5 separate regions of the Homo sapiens genome follow, and regions 2, 3, 4 and 5 are each linked to region 1. Evidence: promoter capture Hi-C in 16 types of primary human blood cells and fetal thymus (Javierre and others, 2016). All regions are on one chromosome and are shown on one strand. Each heading gives the region's core, a stretch centred on a gene start or on the middle of the fragment in contact. The rest is flanking DNA. Distances are from core to core; before and after follow the strand shown. Region 1 holds the start of LY9 (lymphocyte antigen 9). Region 2 overlaps VANGL2 (VANGL planar cell polarity protein 2). Region 3 overlaps LOC105371467 (a long non-coding RNA gene). Region 4 overlaps SLAMF6 (SLAM family member 6). Region 5 holds the start of CD84-AS1 (CD84 antisense RNA 1).

What was found. Contacts are between HindIII fragments. The CHiCAGO score rates a contact against its expected background, and 5 or more counts as called.
Region 2: a fragment that was not itself captured here is called in contact with the fragment with the promoter of LY9 in region 1 in 1 of 17 cell types (non-activated CD4 T cells); the score reaches 5.7 in non-activated CD4 T cells.
Region 3: a fragment that was not itself captured here is called in contact with the fragment with the promoter of LY9 in region 1 in 6 of 17 cell types (total B cells, naive CD8 T cells, non-activated CD4 T cells and 3 more); the score reaches 7.5 in total B cells.
Region 4: a fragment that was not itself captured here is called in contact with the fragment with the promoter of LY9 in region 1 in 2 of 17 cell types (total B cells and naive B cells); the score reaches 5.3 in total B cells.
Region 5: the fragment with the promoter of CD84-AS1 here is called in contact with the fragment with the promoter of LY9 in region 1 in 11 of 17 cell types (naive CD8 T cells, non-activated CD4 T cells, total CD8 T cells and 8 more); the score reaches 14.9 in naive CD8 T cells.

The regions. Positions count from the first base shown.
Region 1 is chr1:160,794,598-160,798,128 of GRCh38, forward strand. LY9 (lymphocyte antigen 9) reads left to right here and starts at 1,577. Exons shown (of 10, transcript NM_002348.4): 1 at 1,577-1,714. The coding sequence starts at 1,591. The HindIII fragment of the contact is 6,680 bases long and covers 268-3,531 here.
Region 2 is chr1:160,401,192-160,404,722 of GRCh38, forward strand. All of the region lies in intron 1 of VANGL2 (VANGL planar cell polarity protein 2), which reads left to right. The region is part of intron 3 of LOC105371466 (a long non-coding RNA gene); the gene reads right to left. Among named protein-coding and RNA genes, the nearest start is that of VANGL2, 2.4 kb to the left of the region's middle. The HindIII fragment of the contact is 1,292 bases long and covers 1,133-2,424 here.
Region 3 is chr1:160,431,207-160,434,737 of GRCh38, forward strand. LOC105371467 (a long non-coding RNA gene) reads right to left here. Exons shown (of 3, transcript XR_922202.3): 3 at 1,659-1,720. Among named protein-coding and RNA genes, the nearest start is that of VANGL2, 32 kb to the left of the region's middle. The HindIII fragment of the contact is 1,676 bases long and covers 691-2,366 here.
Region 4 is chr1:160,487,090-160,490,620 of GRCh38, forward strand. SLAMF6 (SLAM family member 6) reads right to left here. Exons shown (of 8, transcript NM_001184714.2): 4 at 3,486-3,531; 5 at 3,109-3,147; 6 at 1,999-2,081; 7 at 15-86. Among named protein-coding and RNA genes, the nearest start is that of SLAMF6, 34 kb to the right of the region's middle. RefSeq lists enhancers at 2,251-2,380, 2,491-2,550, 3,289-3,531. The HindIII fragment of the contact is 1,001 bases long and covers 1,316-2,316 here.
Region 5 is chr1:160,535,153-160,538,683 of GRCh38, forward strand. CD84-AS1 (CD84 antisense RNA 1) reads left to right here and starts at 1,944. Exons shown (of 2, transcript NR_188634.1): 1 at 1,944-2,035. The HindIII fragment of the contact is 1,945 bases long and covers 1,061-3,005 here.

The DNA.
Region 1 (3,531 bases), core at 327-2,826:
ATCATGACCAGCCTCTAAAGATGCTTTCCATGGACATAAGCCTGTTATCTTAATGGTTTCTCTCTCTCTCTCCCTTCTTCCTTTGAACCCAGACTTCCTGGGTTCAAGTCCTTACTAACTATAAAACTTATAGTAAGCTATTTAACCCCTCTCCACCTCAGTTTTCTCATTTATAGAATGGGGATGATAAAAGATATCTCATAAAACTATTGTAAGATCAAATGAGTGAATATGTTAAAGTGTCAGAAGATGGACTAGCACTCTGTAAGCTTTCATCGAATATTAGCTAAAACTACACATTCTGCCAGCCTCAAGTTTTCCTGCCAAGTCCCCTTAATGTTACAGCCTAAGTAAACAAATGACCTGAAGCCCGAAACACAAACCATAGCATGGCCAGCTATTACGCTACTGACAAGAAGAAGGAGGAGAAAAAGACAGTTTCCCAAGTCAGGATATAGGGAATCATGCCATTCTCCAGCCTACCTTTTCAACTCAGTCACCTCTACGCTGTCACATACGATGTCCACCCCCATTGCAGTCTCCCTGATGCCTTTGTCCATATTAAAAGTCCTTCATTGCATGTGACAGAAAGCTAGCACAAACTGCCTTGAGCAAAATAGAAAATGTATTGGGTCACTGTATTAGTTATCTGTTGCTGTGTAACAAATTGCCCCAAACTTCACAGCTAAAAACAATAAGCATTTTTGATGAAAAATAAAAAATTGAAAAAAAATTTAAAAACCAAACATTTATTATCTCACAGTTTCTCTTGATAAGGAATCTGGGCATGGCTTAGCTGGGTGCCTCTGGCTTAAGGTACTCACACAACTAACATCACGGTGTCAGCCAGGGCTGCAGTCATTTCAAGGACCTCCTGGGGAGGATCCACTTCCAGTCTCACTCATGTGATTCTTGGCTAGCCTCAGTCCTCATGGACAGTTGGCCAGAGGAATCAGCTCCTCGCCGATTGTTGGCTGGGGGCCTCCCTCTGTTCTTTGTTTTGGAACCCTCTCCCTAAAGTATCTCACAAAACAATACCTGGCTCCCCTCAGTGTAAGGTAGGGAGACAGAGATAGTGGGAAAGACAGAGAGGGAGAGAGGGCAAGAGAAAGAGAGAGCGCATATGCACACACATGCTAACCCAAGATGGAAGTCACAGCTTTTTTGTAACCTAATCTCAGAAGTGACCCATCCCACATCTCTGCCACATTCTATTCACTTGAAGCAAGTCACTAAATCCAGGCCACACTAAAGAAGAGGTGATTACACAGAGGCATGAATGCCAGGAGGTACAGATCTTTAGCAGTCACCTTTAGGAGCCAAATTTAGAACCCAAGTCCCTTGATGTCAAAGCAAGTGATGCTCCACATCAGTCACAAATGAGGCCCTGAATAGACTTGGGACCTCTACCTGCCTGCGCAGATGGGAGGAGTCTGTGGTGTTTTGTATAAACAACCCTCCCTCTGAGACACACACACATACACATACACATGCACACACACACTCATATACACATGCAGAAGCTGTGACACGTGCGGAAGCTGTGGTAAGTGCATCCTCCTTCAGTCTCAGTTCTGAAAATAGATCATCATGGTGGCACCAAAGAGTCACACAGATGACTGGGCTCCTGGGCCTTTCTCCAGTAAGCCACAGAGGAGTCAGCTGCAAATATTCTCTTCTGTTCTACAGACCTCTCTCCTCTTCCTGCTCATGGGTAAGTCCACTTTATGGCCACCACTTCTTGCTACTGCGGTTCTTCTGAGGCCAGTTGCATTCCCTGCCTGGGAGATTCTTTTTTTTGTTTTTTGTTTTTTTTAACGGAGTCTCACTCTGTTGCCAGGCTGGAGTGAAGTGGCGCAATCTCGGCTCACTGCAACCTCCACCTCCTGGGTTCAAGCGATTCTCCTACCTCAGCCTCTTGAGTAGCTGGGATTACAGGTGCATGCCAACACACCCAGCTAATCTTTGTATTTTTAGTAGGGGCAGGGTTTCACTATGTTGGCCACGGTGGTCTCGATCTCTTGACCTCGTGATCTGCCCAGCTCAGCCACCTGAAGTGCTGGGATTACAGGCGTGAGCCCAGTTCTTGTTGGTAAAATCGGGAAACTCATCTCCTTGCCAGAAATTACTTTGCATGTGTGCATATTCGTGCACTATGAAGGGGGTAACATTCTAGCCCCGGTCTCAAATAGCTCTGGGCTCAAACTACATTTCTCTTGCCCTCACATTTTCCTAAGAAATGCCAAGTATATAATGAGTTTGTTCCCTGTATGGTGTGGATAAAACCCACAGAGGGATCCAGGAAAATCCCCTGATGAGAAGCCACCTAGCAATTTCCTAGGGATGGAGAGAACTTCTGGAGCTTCTTTCTATGTATCCTGCCTTGGTTATCATATATGCTGGCTTTATTACTGAGGTTTCACTGGGGACCTGGACGCGGTTAGGTGACCATGGGCAAGGTGGCGTTTATCTGGATATCCTTTTCTCCTCAACCTTATTCCTCCCTATCAAGGCCCAACTCCTGGGAAACATCTCTCCGCTGCATGGCCCGGAACCCCACTGTCCAGCAGATAGAGCCAATCCAGTACCCCAGAGAGGATCTCAGCCACCTGGGACTGTGGCAGCTACTGTCCTTCTGTGCTCCCGCTTTCTCCAGGGCTTCAGGGATGATGGTGCAGGTAGCACTAGAGATCTGAGAGCAGTGGGGGTTGGCAGTTGGTGCCTGAAGGGAGCTTTAGAAACACTCCTAGATGCAGATATGGGTGAACGAGGAGCCTAGACCTCAGAGCTGAGGTCCAGTCTGACCTCTTTTCACTTTCAATTTTATCTTGGCTCATCAAAACACACAGAAAGCAGCAAGGCTGTTTATGTTTACCTCCAACCTTTGGGGTGTTCCTTGATTGTGTTGAGCAAACCTGAAATAAGCTACATTCAAGGTCATCCAAGCCGCAAATGATCAATGCAGTGAATTTCAAACAGTTCAGAGCAAAGAGGCATCTCCATTGGTCTGGCTCCACTGATTAGGATGACCTCAAATCTCACTCTTTTGGTCTGAAAGGATGATGCTTTTGTATCTCCAAAGAGTCATTTCAGGAACTTAAAAGGCAGTCGAGTGAAAAGACCCCTCTCACTTTAGTATCAGGAACATCTGAAATTAAATCATTGCTCCATCATTTATTAGTGATGAGGGCCTCTATTTCTTAAGTGTAAAATATAGTTAGTAGGATGCATCATGCAACACTCTTACAGATTGTAGATGATCTATACACACACACACACACACACACACACACGTATAGTGGCACATAGTTGGCAGAAGCTATGATTGTTATTATTATAATTACTGTTACGTGCATTCTTTGGAAACTATTAAGAGACAGGTGAGTCAAATTCAGTTTTGCAATCTTTGAATGCTCTTTTATTATTTGTCCTACGGTGCAATTCAAAATAAAATGACTGGTACTGGGGACCTGTCATTGTACTGGGAGCTGCATTGCACTGTCTTCTGCAACAAGATTTGCCCTGTGAGGC
Region 2 (3,531 bases), core at 529-3,028, 390 kb before region 1:
CGGTTGAAGCCGGAGACGGGGAGCTTGTGTTGGAGGTGGGGGGAGAGGCGTGGAAGGATCGGAGTCTGGAGGTATTGGAAGCCAAGGGTGTTTTGGGGTGCATACACCCCTCAGGAGCGTGGGGAGGGACGGAGGCAGGTATGCGTTAAGGGTGTAGAGTGGAGTCAGGGGGGCGGGTTGGGCAGAGTAGATAGGGTGTATGTACAGACCGAGGATGGGGCTGGAGGCGGTAGACTGTGTATAGGGGCCGAGGGGACAGGCGCTGGCATCCCTCTCCCCACTCATATTTACCCATCTGGGGGACTGTGGGCTCTGCGTTAGTGAGTTTTGAAGGGTTGGTGGAGGATCCGTGTGCATGATTCTTTGTTTTGGTGTGTGTGCACGCCTTGACGTGCTGCATGTTCCTGCAGGTGGGCCCCTGGTTTGGATGTGTAGGTGTTTTTCTGTGCTTGAGTGTGTGTGCACCCAGGGAGCGGCTGACCATGCATCTGCTGTGTGTTTGGATATGTGTTTATATGTATACTTAGGGGAGGGCGTGTATGTCTATGTGTGTGTACTGGGAGAGGGGTTCACGGGAAAGAGGTGTGTAGGTACTGAGGAAGGTGGGTGTGTAAGAGCAGAATGGAGTGTATGTGGATAGGTGTGTGTGCACCTGTGTACTGGGAAGGGGTGTGAATCTGTGTTCTCTTGTGTGTAACCTGTGTTGATGGGTATCAATGTGTGTGCCTGCCTTAGCTGGTATGTATGTTTCTGAGTGTGTGTCGGGGGTACCTCTAGACTCTGCAGGCAGATTTTCCTGGCAAAAATCCCGAAAAGAAGGCTGTCTGCAGGATTTTGAGACTTCGTGGATGGCCTCGCCTGGGTTTAGGGGTAGTACCTTAAGTATCTGAGACCTATGGGTGGGAGGGAATGAGTTGTCTTATGAAGTGCCTGTTTTTGGGGGATGGGTTTTTCTGGAAGAGGGCGTGTGTTGTGGGGAATAGGGAACAAGGGGTCTGGTTGTAGTCCTAGAGGAATTTGGAAGATTGGCGGGGTCAGGGAGAAGAATAAGAGGAACTTCCTCCCCCATCGTCATAGGCTGGGTTCCAGCGCTTGGAGAAGCTACACTCTTGGATTCCCAGCCTTAGGTAAAAGCTTCAGGCCACAGTTCTCTTGGAAAGCCGTCTCAGAGTTTGCTGCTTCATAGCCTTCTAACTCTGCCCTGACTCTAAGATCCTAAAGTTCCTGAGGAGTCTTGAGATTTTGGTGTGGGATGGAAACAAGAGGAGGAAGCATGTCTGGAGGGTTGAGACCTGGTGGGGAACAGCTTGGGTTCCCTGCCCATGGGGTTGAGAAGGTGGCATAGGGTGTTTCTTCAGCAGCTTTTGCAAGTGAGTCTGTGTGGTTTATCAGACCAAAAAGTTTCCCTTTTCCCTGGTGTCAAGCATGATTGAGATGGAGCTGTGGGTGTGGGGCCAGGGCTGAGTGTCTGTGTGTCGGGAAAGGGCCAGGTACCCATTGCAGGCTATACTGCTATACTCATCATCATGATAGTGTGGTGGGAAGTCAGTGACTATCCAGGAAGTGAATGTCTCTTTCCACCAAGAAGCCACAGCTCCCTTCTCTCCCTGTCCTCTCTCATCCTTTCTCTTTTGGGGTATAGGAAAGGGGTTGCTCACCTCCTTCTTTAGGATACTAGCCTTCCCCCATTGCACACTCTTTTTGCTGCCAGTGGCTGGGTTGAGGCACCCAGTTTTAAGAGCTGAGGTGAGATTGTACATACCCATTATGGTCTCTGGGCAATTGCAATTGGAATGTTAGAGTCTCTAATGGGCATGTGCAATTGGAATGTTCCCTCTTTAGTCCTCAGGGCTCCCTACCCTCCCTAAGGCCTGGAGATAAGAGTAGTAGGGGTTAGAAAATGTTTGAACGAGGAACGGGGAACGGGGCAGAGTAGGAAAAGACCTTTAAAAGACCTTTTTTTTTTTTTAATGGATCATTCCCCCAAACCCAACACCTGTCTGATAGTTAGGGCTCCCAGGGCTAGTAAGGCACTTGCATCTAAGATGGTGTGCCCTGGCCCTCTGGGGTCCCTTGTTTGCTCTGTATACGCTGATCACATGCATGATATATTATGCTGGTGGGGGCTCTCTTCCAAAGAGGAGGAATTGTGGTCAGATAATAGGAAATGCCATTTCTGAAAGTACTTCCAGATTGGGAGTCAGTGGCCACGTTGGCCCCTCCTCACCCATTGTCTTGCTCCTGACTTCTATTTCCTCTAATTCTTCCGGGGCAGGCCTCTCTGGTGTGTTTGCCTCTCCTCCTGATCCTTTTAGATCTGAGGAAATATCCCCCCTTCCCTGGCCCTAGAGCAGGACAGTTTTTTATCTGCTCATCTGGTTTCCAGGTCCTTCCAGTTAATGGGGAGGGAACTTGACTAACAGAAGCTTTGGCAGGGAAAAGGAAGAGATCTGATCCCCTCTGAGTTTTAGGGAACTCCAGTCTTCTCCTTCCCTCAAGTGTTCATCACATTGTGAGGCCAGAGAAAGGAGTCAGAGTTGGTTGGAATTAGTACTTAACAGTGGTGTGATCTGGGCAAGTAATAAACCCCATTCCCCAGCCTCTTAGGTGTCTTAAGGCACATCCTCCAAGCCTAGACTGAGCCCTTCCACAAGGAATCCCTGGTCCCCCACCAAGTGGCTTTCTTCCCTGGTTTGCTTTTAAATTCTGGCTTTGCCACTGTCTAATTCCGTGACATCAGACAAAACTGGTAACTTTTTGAAGCCTCACCTGTAAAATGGAATTAATAATAGGCCCTACTTCTTGGGGTTATGAGGATTAAATGAAATAATAGAGAAAGCACGTTGCACAGTTCCTGGCACATAGTAAATGTTAGCTGGATGGTTCGGATTCTGAGGGATAATCATCATTAAGGGAGAGAGGTCGGAGTCGGGATAGGAGAACTAGGCTTTGGTTCTGATCTTCCTTTGGCCGACCACATTAGGCACTCTCTCCTATCTGCCAGGCACAGTGTGAAGCACAGGGGATGGAGGGGCAAATAAGATGTTTTCCCAGGGGAGACATGTGAAAACATGTTGATTCACTGCAGCCCAGTGAGTGCTGTGTGGAGGTGTGTTCAGGAGGCCACTGGAGCATAGAGGAAGAGTGCTTGGCCCTGGGGTGAGGTGCCAGGGAAGGTTCCTGCAGGAGATGCCCTGTTAGCTGGATTTTAAAAAAATTAAGGTGAAATTCACATAATAGGAAATAAACCATTTTAAAGTGAACAGTGGCATTTAGTACATTCACAGTGCTGTGCAACAACCACCTCTGTCTAGTCCCCAAACATTTGCACCATCCCGAAACAAAACCCATACCCATTACACAATTGTCGCCATTTCCCCTTACCCCAGCCCCTGGCAACCACCAATTTGCATCCTGTCTCTATGGATGTACCTATTCTGGATATTTCATACAAATGGAATGATAGAATGCATGACCTTTTGAATCTGGCTTCCTTCGCTTAACATAATGTTTTCCAGGTTAATCCACACG
Region 3 (3,531 bases), core at 279-2,778, 360 kb before region 1:
AGCCAACAGTGTGTGAGGGTATTGAGCCTGATATGTAAACTATTTTGATGTCACTTGTCAAAAATAGCCATCTGTACTCTGATATCCTGTAAGGGGAATGACTTTGGTTATAAGGTTATAAAAATTAGGAGTATGGCTGGGCGCAGTGGCTCACGCTTATAATCTCAGCACTTTGGGAGGCCGAGGCGGGTGGATCACCTGAGGTCAGGAGTTCGCGACTAGCCTGGCCAAGATGGTAAAACCACGTCTCTACTAATAATACAAAAATTAGCTGGGCGTGGTGGCACATGCCTGTAATCTCAGCTACTTGGGAGGCTGAGGCAGGAGAATCACTTGAACCCGGGAGGCAGAGGTTGTGGTGAGCCGAGATTGGGCCACTGCACTCCAGCCTGGGTGATAAGAGTGAAACTCTGTCTCAAAAAAAAAGAAAAGAAAGAAAAGAAAAAAGAAAAAAAAAATTAGGAGTATGAGATCTTCGGTTGTGTATTGTCCCTTCTTGCTTTTGGGCACAATTAGGTCATGCTGCTGCTTCACTTAGGGTAAGTATGTGGTTAAAAGTATGTGGTTTTAGGATTTTTTAGGGCAGTGGAACTACTGTGTATGTGCTATAAATGTGGATACTTGGCATTATACATTTTTCCAAACCCATAGGATATACAGTACCAGTAGTGAAGCCTAATGTAAATTATAAGCTTTGAGTGATTAATTGGAACAAATGTACCACTCTGGTGGGGGATGTAGATAATGGGAGAGTCCATGCAAGTGTGGGGGCAGGGCATGTATAAAAAATCCCTGTACCTTCCACTCAATTTTCACATGAAACTAAAACTACTCTAAAAAGGCTATTTACATTTGAGATCAGGAGTTCGAGACCAGCCTGGCCCACATGGTGAAACCCTCCCCCGCTGTCTCTACTATAAATACAAAAATTATTTTGGTGGAATGCGCCTGTAATTCCAGCAACTCGGGAGGTCAAGGCATGAGAATCGTTTGAACCCGGGAGGTGGAGGCTGCAGTGAGCTGAGATTGTGCCACTGCACTCCAGCCCGGGCAACAGAGCAAGACTCCATCTCAAAAATAAATAAATAAATTACAAACAAACTCTATTTAAAAAAACCTGACTAAGAAGACATCAAGCACAACTTTACCTAATTCTAGACACCGCTCTAGTAATAAAAGTGATAGTATTATAGGTACTTGTGATTCAGGGGAAAAAAATGCAGGTGTGTGCTGTTTCCCCTGAATCCCTTAACAGTGTCACTATGGAGCTTGGAAATCTGTTAAAGACCACTGAAGAGGAAGCTGAAGCTCTGTTGGTCCATCAATAATACTGTGACAACCAAAAATTTGCATGAGGGGACTTAAATGAGTCAGGAAACATGTGATTTAACTTAGTGAAGATTTTCACTCCTTTCAAGTTCCTGTTAATGTTAGTTCTCTTTGACATAAGAATGTGTGATTTTAGGGTGGGGTTGGCTGGGATGGTTTTTACTGTAATAAAGAACACTTGTTGAAGGACTTCTTGTCTTCTGTCAGTTTACTTATATCTTAACACAGTACCTCTGGCCTCAAAGATGGAATCCAGTTGAAGTGAAAGCAGATCCAAACTGTATCATCAGGGAAAGCTGAGCTTGTAGAATTCATTTTCAGTGACTGGTACGAGATTGTGTACTTCTGGTTTGGAGCATATTGAAGAATTCGACCCTGGGCAACCTTTTTCCTGGAATTGAAATGTTCATCGGGTTTTTACTCTGTCTTGAAATAGGTCCCCAAAATAGAGTTTTTCAAACTTTAATGGTGCGTATAGCAAGTGTACAAATCACTTGGGGATTATGTGAAATACAGACCCTGATTCAACAGGTCTGGGTAGGGTCTGAGTTTCTTCATTTCAAACAGGTGCCCAGGTGTCTTAGTCAGCTCAGGCTGCTGTAACAAAATACCATAGACTGACTGGGGGTCTTAAAATCCAGAAATTTATTCCTCATAGTTCTTGAGGCTGGAAGTCCGAGATTGGGCTGGCAAGCATGGTTAGGATCTGATGAGGGATCTCTTCTTGGCTTATAGGATGCTGCTTTCTTGCTGTGCCCTCACATGGCAGAGAGAGAGAGAGAGAGAGAGAGAGAGAGAGAGAGTGAGAGAGCGAGGTTTCTTATGTCTCTTCTTATAAGGGCACTAATTCCATCACGAGGGCCCTAGTCTCATAACCTCATCTAAATCTAATTACCTCCCAAAGGCCGCATTTCCAAATAACATCAAATTGGGGGTTAGGCTTCAACATATGCATTCTGGGGCAACACAGTATAAAGCACCAGGTGCTGCTGCTGATGTTCTACAGACCTTATTTTGAGCAGCAAGGCCCTAAAAGAAGCTTAATATACCCCTGAAAATTTGAGGGTCCTAAACACGCCTTACTTAACTCTAAGATAATTGATGCAAGAGATCAAAATTGTTAAGAGGTCTAAATTTTATGAATGTAATAAATAGTTTGGTAAGGTCATTGTTGCTCATGCTATAAAATTGTGCCACCTGTATCAAATTGTGATTTTATGAGAATCTTAAATGATATGTTGTGAGATAGGCCTTACGTGTGGAGTTTATACAAAAGCAGTTCAGTATGCAACTTAACTGATCCATGAGACGTTAATAATGACACAAAAAAAGGGCCAAAATGAGATCTTATCACTAAAGGCCATAGAAATTGAAGGAGCAGTTTCCAATATAAATTATCTTTGGCTAGAAATTTTTTTGCCAACATGACTGTATTAGTCTATTCTCATGCTGCTATGAAGAAATACCCGAAACTGGTTTAATTGACTCAGTTTCTCATGGCTGGGGAGGCCTCAGGAAACTTGCAATTCTGGTGGAAGGGGAAGCAAACACATCCTTCTTCACTTTGTGGCAGGAGAGGGAATGAGAGCCAAAATGCTGCCAGTCTCTTTGCGTTGCAAGAGTGACATTTACTTCAGTTCTTAACAAGTTCCTCATCTCCATTTGAGACCACCTCAGCCTGGACTTCATTGTCCATATCACTATCAGCATTTTGGTCAAAGCCATTCAAAAAGTCTCTAGGAACTTCCAACCTTTCCCACATTTTCCTGTCTTCTGAGCCCTCCAAGTCTCTAGGAAGTTCCAAAGTTTCCTGTCTTCTTCTGAGCCCTCCAAACTGTTTTAACGTGTGCCTGTTACCCAGTTCCAAAGTCACTTCCACATAATTGGATATCCTTATAGCAGTACCCCACTCTCTGTTGTACCAATTTACTGTATTAGTCTGTTTTCATGCTGCTATGAAGATATACTCAAGACTGGATAATTTATAAAGAAAAGAGGTTTAATTGACTCACAGTTCCTCATGACTAGGGAAACCTCAGGAAACTTACAATCATGACAGAAGGCAAAACAGGCATGTCTTACATGGCGGCAGGTGAGAGAAGTGAGTGCCAACTGAAGGGGGCAGCCCCTTATCAAACCATCAGATCTTGTGAGAACTCACTATCATGAGAACAGCATGAGGGTAACCACCCCCACGATTCA
Region 4 (3,531 bases), core at 566-3,065, 310 kb before region 1:
AATCGTGGGCTTACCTCTTTGGAATGATTAATTGTGGAGTAAATTGTGATAGTATCATTTTCTCTAGGTGTCCAGATTTCTGTTTCCTGTAAAAAGAATCATACCAATTTGGCTTACACAGAGACAAAGAGATTAATGCATAGATATATTCTTAGGAAAGACTGTGTGACAAAAAAGAGAATATGTCAAAGTTCTTCCAGAGGAAGGCTGGGGAATGTTCAGTGGAAGACCAAGCACGACTAGCTATCAAACTTGTGAGGATTTAGTGGCATTTCCTGAGCCCCAAACAGAACAGCAACACTGCAGCAAACCAATGGGCTCAAGAGCCAGAGAAAGGCAGCCTTGCTGTATGAAGGGAAGGAAGTATTCTTGTCCTTTGTCCAGCTCTACTTTCCTTCCTCCATTTTTAAGAAAAAACTTATATACCAGATAGTTTATTATATGTTTTGTCTCAAATTTTTACTAGCTATGACTGAAACTACCCATTTTGCCTGCTCCATCTTTTGCTATAATTCTAACTGCCTTGTCATCATGTCATTGGGGTCTTCTCAAGCATGGGGAATTGGTAGAATAGGAACACTTGGCCTTAAGAATGGCTCTGCCTGGAATGCACATTACAGAAATAATAGCAGAAGTCCCTACGGCCCTCAAAGAACCTACTCAAAGATTTTGACACTTTAAATTAATGAAGAAGTATTTAGAGAATTATCAAGATCTCTACTGGGCACAGTGGCTCATGCCTGTAAACCCAACACTTTGGGAGGACGAGGCAGGCGGATCACTTGAGCGCAGAAGTTTGAGACCAGCCTGGGCAACATGGTGAAACCCCGTCTCTACAAAAAGTAGAAAAATTATCCTGATGTGATGGTGCTCGCCTGTAGTCGCAGCTACTTGGGAGGCCAAGGTAAAAGGATCACCTGAGCATGAGGAGGTTGAGGCTGCAGTGAGCTGTGATTGTGCTACTGCACTCAGCCCTTGGTGACAGAGTGACACTCTGTCTCAAAAAAAAAAAAAAACCAAAAAACAAAAAACAAACCAACAAAAAACAAAAAAACCTCAAACTCTCCAAAGCACATTTTTTTTTTCTTTTTGCTAAAGAGAAAGCTAACCAATTTGTGGGAAATTAGTTTTTTGATTTGTCAGAGTGTGAGTTGACTTGTTTTCAGGAGGAATTTGCAAAGGCAAAAGAAATGTCTGAGCAAGTGAGAGTACCCCTTCTTGCTTCCTGTCATCAAGGATCATACTTTGCAAATATAGGTGAAGGGAATCCAAGATTTCTAGCTAGATCATTGCTTACATCATTTTGAAAATGCTAAGCTTTCCTGGCTTATTTTTCAGAAAACTGGCCTCTCAAAATGTATGGTATTATTTAGAGATGTGCCACCTGCAGGTCCTTTATTTAGGGGTGGTGGGGAGTTGCTGATACATGACAGATGAGTTGCTGATGCTTGACCAGCCATCCTGTTATGCTGCTAGATGAGAGGGGAGGGGTGAACCATTGCTCATGGTTTAGTGGCCTCTACTGTGCCCCCTTCCCCTCTTGAGAGACTACTTCTGAACTCCCCTAAGACCCCTACATGCAGAGTGAGAAGTCAGCCACCTGCTATGGAACTACGTCCATAGGAAACTTTCAAACTTAGTGGAACTCTGACCCATTCAGCAAGTATTTACTGATCATTATGCTAGGATATAGGGCAAGAGAGAGGAAGACATAATTTGTACTTTCAGTCAGCTTGTAATTAAGCTGAAGGGACAAGACTTACTGATGCATCAAGCGGTTGGAGAACTGTGTAAGGCAGGGTATGAATAAACATTCCCTTAAGGGTGAGAAAGGCAGACACCAGAGTGGTCTAGCGCATAACTTTGCAGCCCCTGTCGCTGTGGCTGTCTTCTCCTCCCCTCAGTGGTCATTTGTTCAGTCAGATGGTTATGGTGACAAGTTTGTGAACAATGGCTGTAAAACTGACAACAATGGCATATAAAGCTGAAAAGACTCACCCTGTTTGAATGAGTGACTGAAGCATACACAGTGTTGTTCGTTGGAGACACTGAAACATACTCTAGGTTCCTTGCGGACTCTGCTGTTAACATAGGAAGGCACAGTCAATGGCACAAGGACTCTGGGACTTCTCTCCCAGGACTTCTCCCTCCCCAGAGCACACTGTGTCCCCAGATAGGCAGGTGTTTGAAGCATCTCCTTTCCTGAGGGATCATTCGTTCTTGACAGTCTTTGGAGCTCTGGGTGAACCTTCTCAGTCATGTGGTCTATTTCTGACCACATCTCTTGGGGTAGAAGGTGGTGTTGAGGTCCCCTAAAGCTTCAGAGTCTCCCTCAGGCTTCACATGTGGGTCAGGAAGCTCCTGGGACCAAATAGCCCTGCCTATGGAAGGGCTAAAGACACCTCATTGGCAAACATAATGGAGCCAGTTATTTCACATTTGGGATATTATTAAGCTTTTCAGAGGTCTCTACAGCGGATTTGATTATTTTGGAGATGAGGAACTGGAGGCTCAGAAAACTTAACTGACTTGTGCAAAGCCATACAGACAGTGATGAAACAGCAACTCAAATGCACGTCTTCTGACTTCAAACCTTATGCCTTTTCCTCTGCAAGTGATGTCATGCATCACTCATGCATGAAATGAGACCCAAAGCCAATCTGAGTCCAGAGCCTGTGTTTGTGTTTCTATATCATGTTTTCTCTTTCCACTGTGTCTATCCATTGCCCAGACCCTGGCTGAACAGTAATGATGCAGTCAGACAGTTTGGTTTTGTGCCTTGGATGCTCTAATCCTGCCTGTGCCCTGGACTTGCTGGGTGACAAGGGATGATCCCTTTCACTGGGACTTAGTTTCTCCATCAGCAGGGTGGTGAATGAACCTGATATCACCAAGAGAAACTGTGTGAGTGACTGGTTCACATGCCTATGCCTGTGAACCATGTAGGACCCATGATTACAGATCATCTCCCCTCACAGCATGTGGTCTGAGTAATGACATTCTGACTCCTTCCTCTGTCATTATCCAGCCCTCTGCCATCCCCCTCTCTCTTCCATTTGGCTCTTCCCATCTGCTTTATGATGGAGAGTTAAGAGTCTGAATGCTCACCGGGGCCCTGTGTTCGCTGAGTAGACAAAGATAGGGAATCTGAAAAATAAAACCAGAAAATTGAAATGTGTGACAGCAGTGGGAGAGGCATTTCACCCCTAACCCCGTGAGTGTTGGGATGTGGTGGGAGGGGACCCAAAAGGAAGGGCAAGCAGCCCTGAGACAGGGTCCCACTTTTCCCAGTAGGACATTTCTCTCAGGATATTAGCAGGTGCAAGATCACACCCAGGGATTATCTCAGTGGACTAGCTGAGCCAGGGTTTGCAGCCTCCCTCCCTCCTCCTGTCTTCCACAAGAGATCCTTGGGAATCAGAGGCCCCAAACTCTCAATCACTGGAACCTTGGAGAAGAGACAAGTAGGAAGAAAGGAAACCTGCCTCTTCTTTTCCTCAAAACAAGTAACAGCAGTATGATGAAACCGAA
Region 5 (3,531 bases), core at 694-3,193, 260 kb before region 1:
GTGTCTTTGTTTGGCTTTCGTATCAGGGTAGTGCTGGTGTCACAGAGTGAATTAGGAAGTGGTCTCTTCTTGTTAAGGACTGAGTGTTTATGCCTCTACAAAATGTATATATTGAAGCTCTAACCCCCAATGTGATGATATTTGGAGATGGGGACTTTGAGAGATAATTAGGTTTGGATGAGGTCATGTGAGTGGGACCCTCATGATGAGATAAGCATACTGATAAGAAAGGAGAGACTAAAGTTCTTGCTCTCTCTCTACCACATGAGGGCGTATTGAGAAGTTGGCCACCTACAAGCCAGGGAGAGTTTCACCAGCAATTGAATCAGCTGGCACCTTGATCTTGGACATCGAAGCCTTCAGAACTGTGAGAAATAAATTTCAATTGTTTAAGCTACCAAGTCTGTGGTATTTTGTCATGGAAGACAGAGTGAATTAATATATTTATCTTCAATGTTTAGAAGAGTTTAAGAAGGATTAGTGTAAAATCTTTTAAAACTCTTTGGTGACCAGTGAAGCCTTCTGATCCAGGACTTCTCCTTGTTGGGAAGTTGTTTTAAAATTATTTACTTAATATTCTTAGTAGTTATAGGTCTAATCAGATTTTCTATTTCTTCATGATTCAGTCTTTGTAAAAATTGTGTCTACTTCATCTATGTTATCCAATTTGTTTGTAGTAGTCTCTTCTATTCATTTCTGAAAAATTGGTTGTAGTGTCCTCATTTTCATTTCCAATTTTAGTAATTTGAGCACTCTGTCTTTTTTTCCATAACCACTCTAACTAAATTTGCCAATTTCGTTGATCCTTTTAAGTAATCAACTTTTTGGTTCATTAATTTTCTCTATTTTATCTCTGGTCTAATCTTTATTATTTTCTTTATTTTGATAGCTTTGGGTTCATAGTAGTGGCACTTTCCCACTTGAGATCTGAATTAAGTGAAATAGAGACCAGTTCTTCATGGACTCCTAAGACAGATTAGAATATTGCAAATAAGATCTGTTATGTTCCCTCCCATTCAAGAGAGGGAACTGAGAAGTGAACTCCTGCCTCCTCTAAACAAGCTTTCTGTTGGGATGAGGAGGGGATGGGGCAAGGGCAAGAAAAATGCCATGGAACTTTTCCTACCATTTCAAAAGTGGCTTTTTCTTCATTGGGCATTTGATTGGTTGTTATAAAACTCTGACTGTTTTCCAGAGTCCCTATAAGGTTAATTCAACCATTTGGGTTTTTTTTTGTTTGTTTGGCTGTTTTTTTATTACTCTAAGTTGGGGGAAAGAGAGAGTTTGGAATTTCCTAGTCCACCACTTTGCTGACATCACTCTCTCTATCTCTATACTTTTACACTGATTTTTAAAAAGATGATAGAAATGTGTTCACATATTTCTTAAGTAACTAAAAATTAGTGACATTATCCAAGATCTTGGTGGATAAATAATATTCTCTCTGAAGAACCAATGCCCCTTAGAAAAATGACTGATTCTAGATGTGAGATAGCCTCTTATATGTATTTCTTGACTCACTTTACTAACAAGGATCTTCAATACAATACAGTTGAAGAGTAGCAGTGATCTTGTATTCACTGAATACAAGAATGGTTACTTGTATTCATTTCTTTATTAAGAATGCCTCTAATGTTTCCAATAAATGTTTGCTACATATGCTGTATCAAGTTGTAAAAGTTTAACCCGAGCCAGTCATTTGCTTATTTGCTCTCAGCTCTATTCCCACCCTTCTGTGTTCCTTGTTTTTCAGAAGGTTAGAAGTCTGCAAACTACATTTATCATTTCCATTGTCAGATGGCTTCTGATTAGATTTTGTCACTGGGTGGTATTGGTTAAAGTTGGATGGAAGGAATAAATTATATATTTTTCCATAATCTTGGTTTCTGGTAATGTTTTCAGTAGTGGCAGTGATAGCAGAAGATGAGTACCGCTTCAGGGTTCCTGGTGTAGCAGTGCAGTTCCAGCAAGCATGTCAGAAGTCTTGCTAGTGTGGTACTGGTGGGATCAGGCTTTGATGGTGGCATCTGCAGTGGTGAGTTATTTTTGTCTCCCAGAGTCTCACAGTTTTGATGAGACTGTGAACTCTTAGAATCTTGAAAGCTGGCAGCACTGATTCCCAAGACAAATTTCCATAGGGACAAAGTTCCATAGCAACTTCCTGGAATTATTAATTGCTTGGTAACCTCAGCTTCCCTGTTTTACTCCTCCATCACTTTTGGAATCAATTCCCTATATTCAGCTTGTTGAGTTTTCAGTATTTAACATGGTCTCAGTTTTTTAAAATTGGATATTGACTAAAACACATTCTATTTTTAGCTTTCTTGAAAACTTTTTAAATCAGTCATGGGTATTCAGTTTTATCAAATATATATTGTAGACTATGTCAGGATGATTATTTTTTTCATCTCCTTTAATCTGTTTGAACAGCAAATTACAATAGATGGTTTCTTAAAGATAAATCATCCTGGCACTCTAAGGATAAAATCCTACTTGGTCGCATTTTTTTTTCTTTTAATGCATTGCTTTAAAATTGACTGAAGTTTAAGATTTTTAACATTTATATTTATAAGTGAGATTGGACTATATCAGGATGTGGCAGACTTTTTCTGTAAAGGTCCCAGTAGTGAATATTGGACTTTGTGGACCATACAATCTCCTTTGCAACTACTCAACTCTGCTGGTGTAGTATGGAAGCAGCCATAATAAACACATAAAAGAATGCGTGTTGGCTGTGTTTCAATAAAACTTTATTTATGGATGCTGAAATTTGAATTTCACATAATTTTAACATGTCCCAAAATATTATTATTCTTTGAATTCTTTTCAACCATTTTAAAAATGTAAACTATTCTTAGTTCGTGGGTCAAATAAAAACAGATGGCAGACTGGATGTGGCCACACGCCATAGTTTGCTAACTCCTGGCCTATGTATCTCTTTGTGGGGGATCATCCTTATCTGGCTTTGGAATCAGTGTTATATTATAGTATTTAATGAATTTGGAAGCTTCCCACTGTTTTCTATGCCTTGGGACAGTTAAGATGACTGGGAATTATCCTTTCATTGTAGGTGATAGGACTAGCCCTTAAGACCATCTAGGCTGGTACACTTTTGGCAATTAGACCACTGAATATCTTTCCATTTTTTTTCAGGTTAAAGAATTTCTTCTAATTATAAACTAACTTTCTCTCTCTCTTTCTTTCTTTCCTTTCCTTTTCTTTTTTTTTTCTTTCTTTTCTTTCTTTTGAGAAAGAGTCTTGCTCTGTTGCCCAGGCTGGAGTGCAGTGGCACCATCTCAGCTCACTGCAACCTCTGCCTCCCGGGTTCAAGCAATTCTCGTGCCTCAGCCTTCCAAGTAGCTGGGACTACAGGTGTGTGCCACCACACCCGGCTTTTTTTTTTTTTTGTTTTTGTACTTTTAGTAGAGACGGGGTTTCACCATGTTGACCAGGCTGGTCTTGAACTCCTGGCCTCAAGTAATCCACCCACCTCAGCCTCCCAATACAGGCGTGAGCCACTGTGCCAGGGCT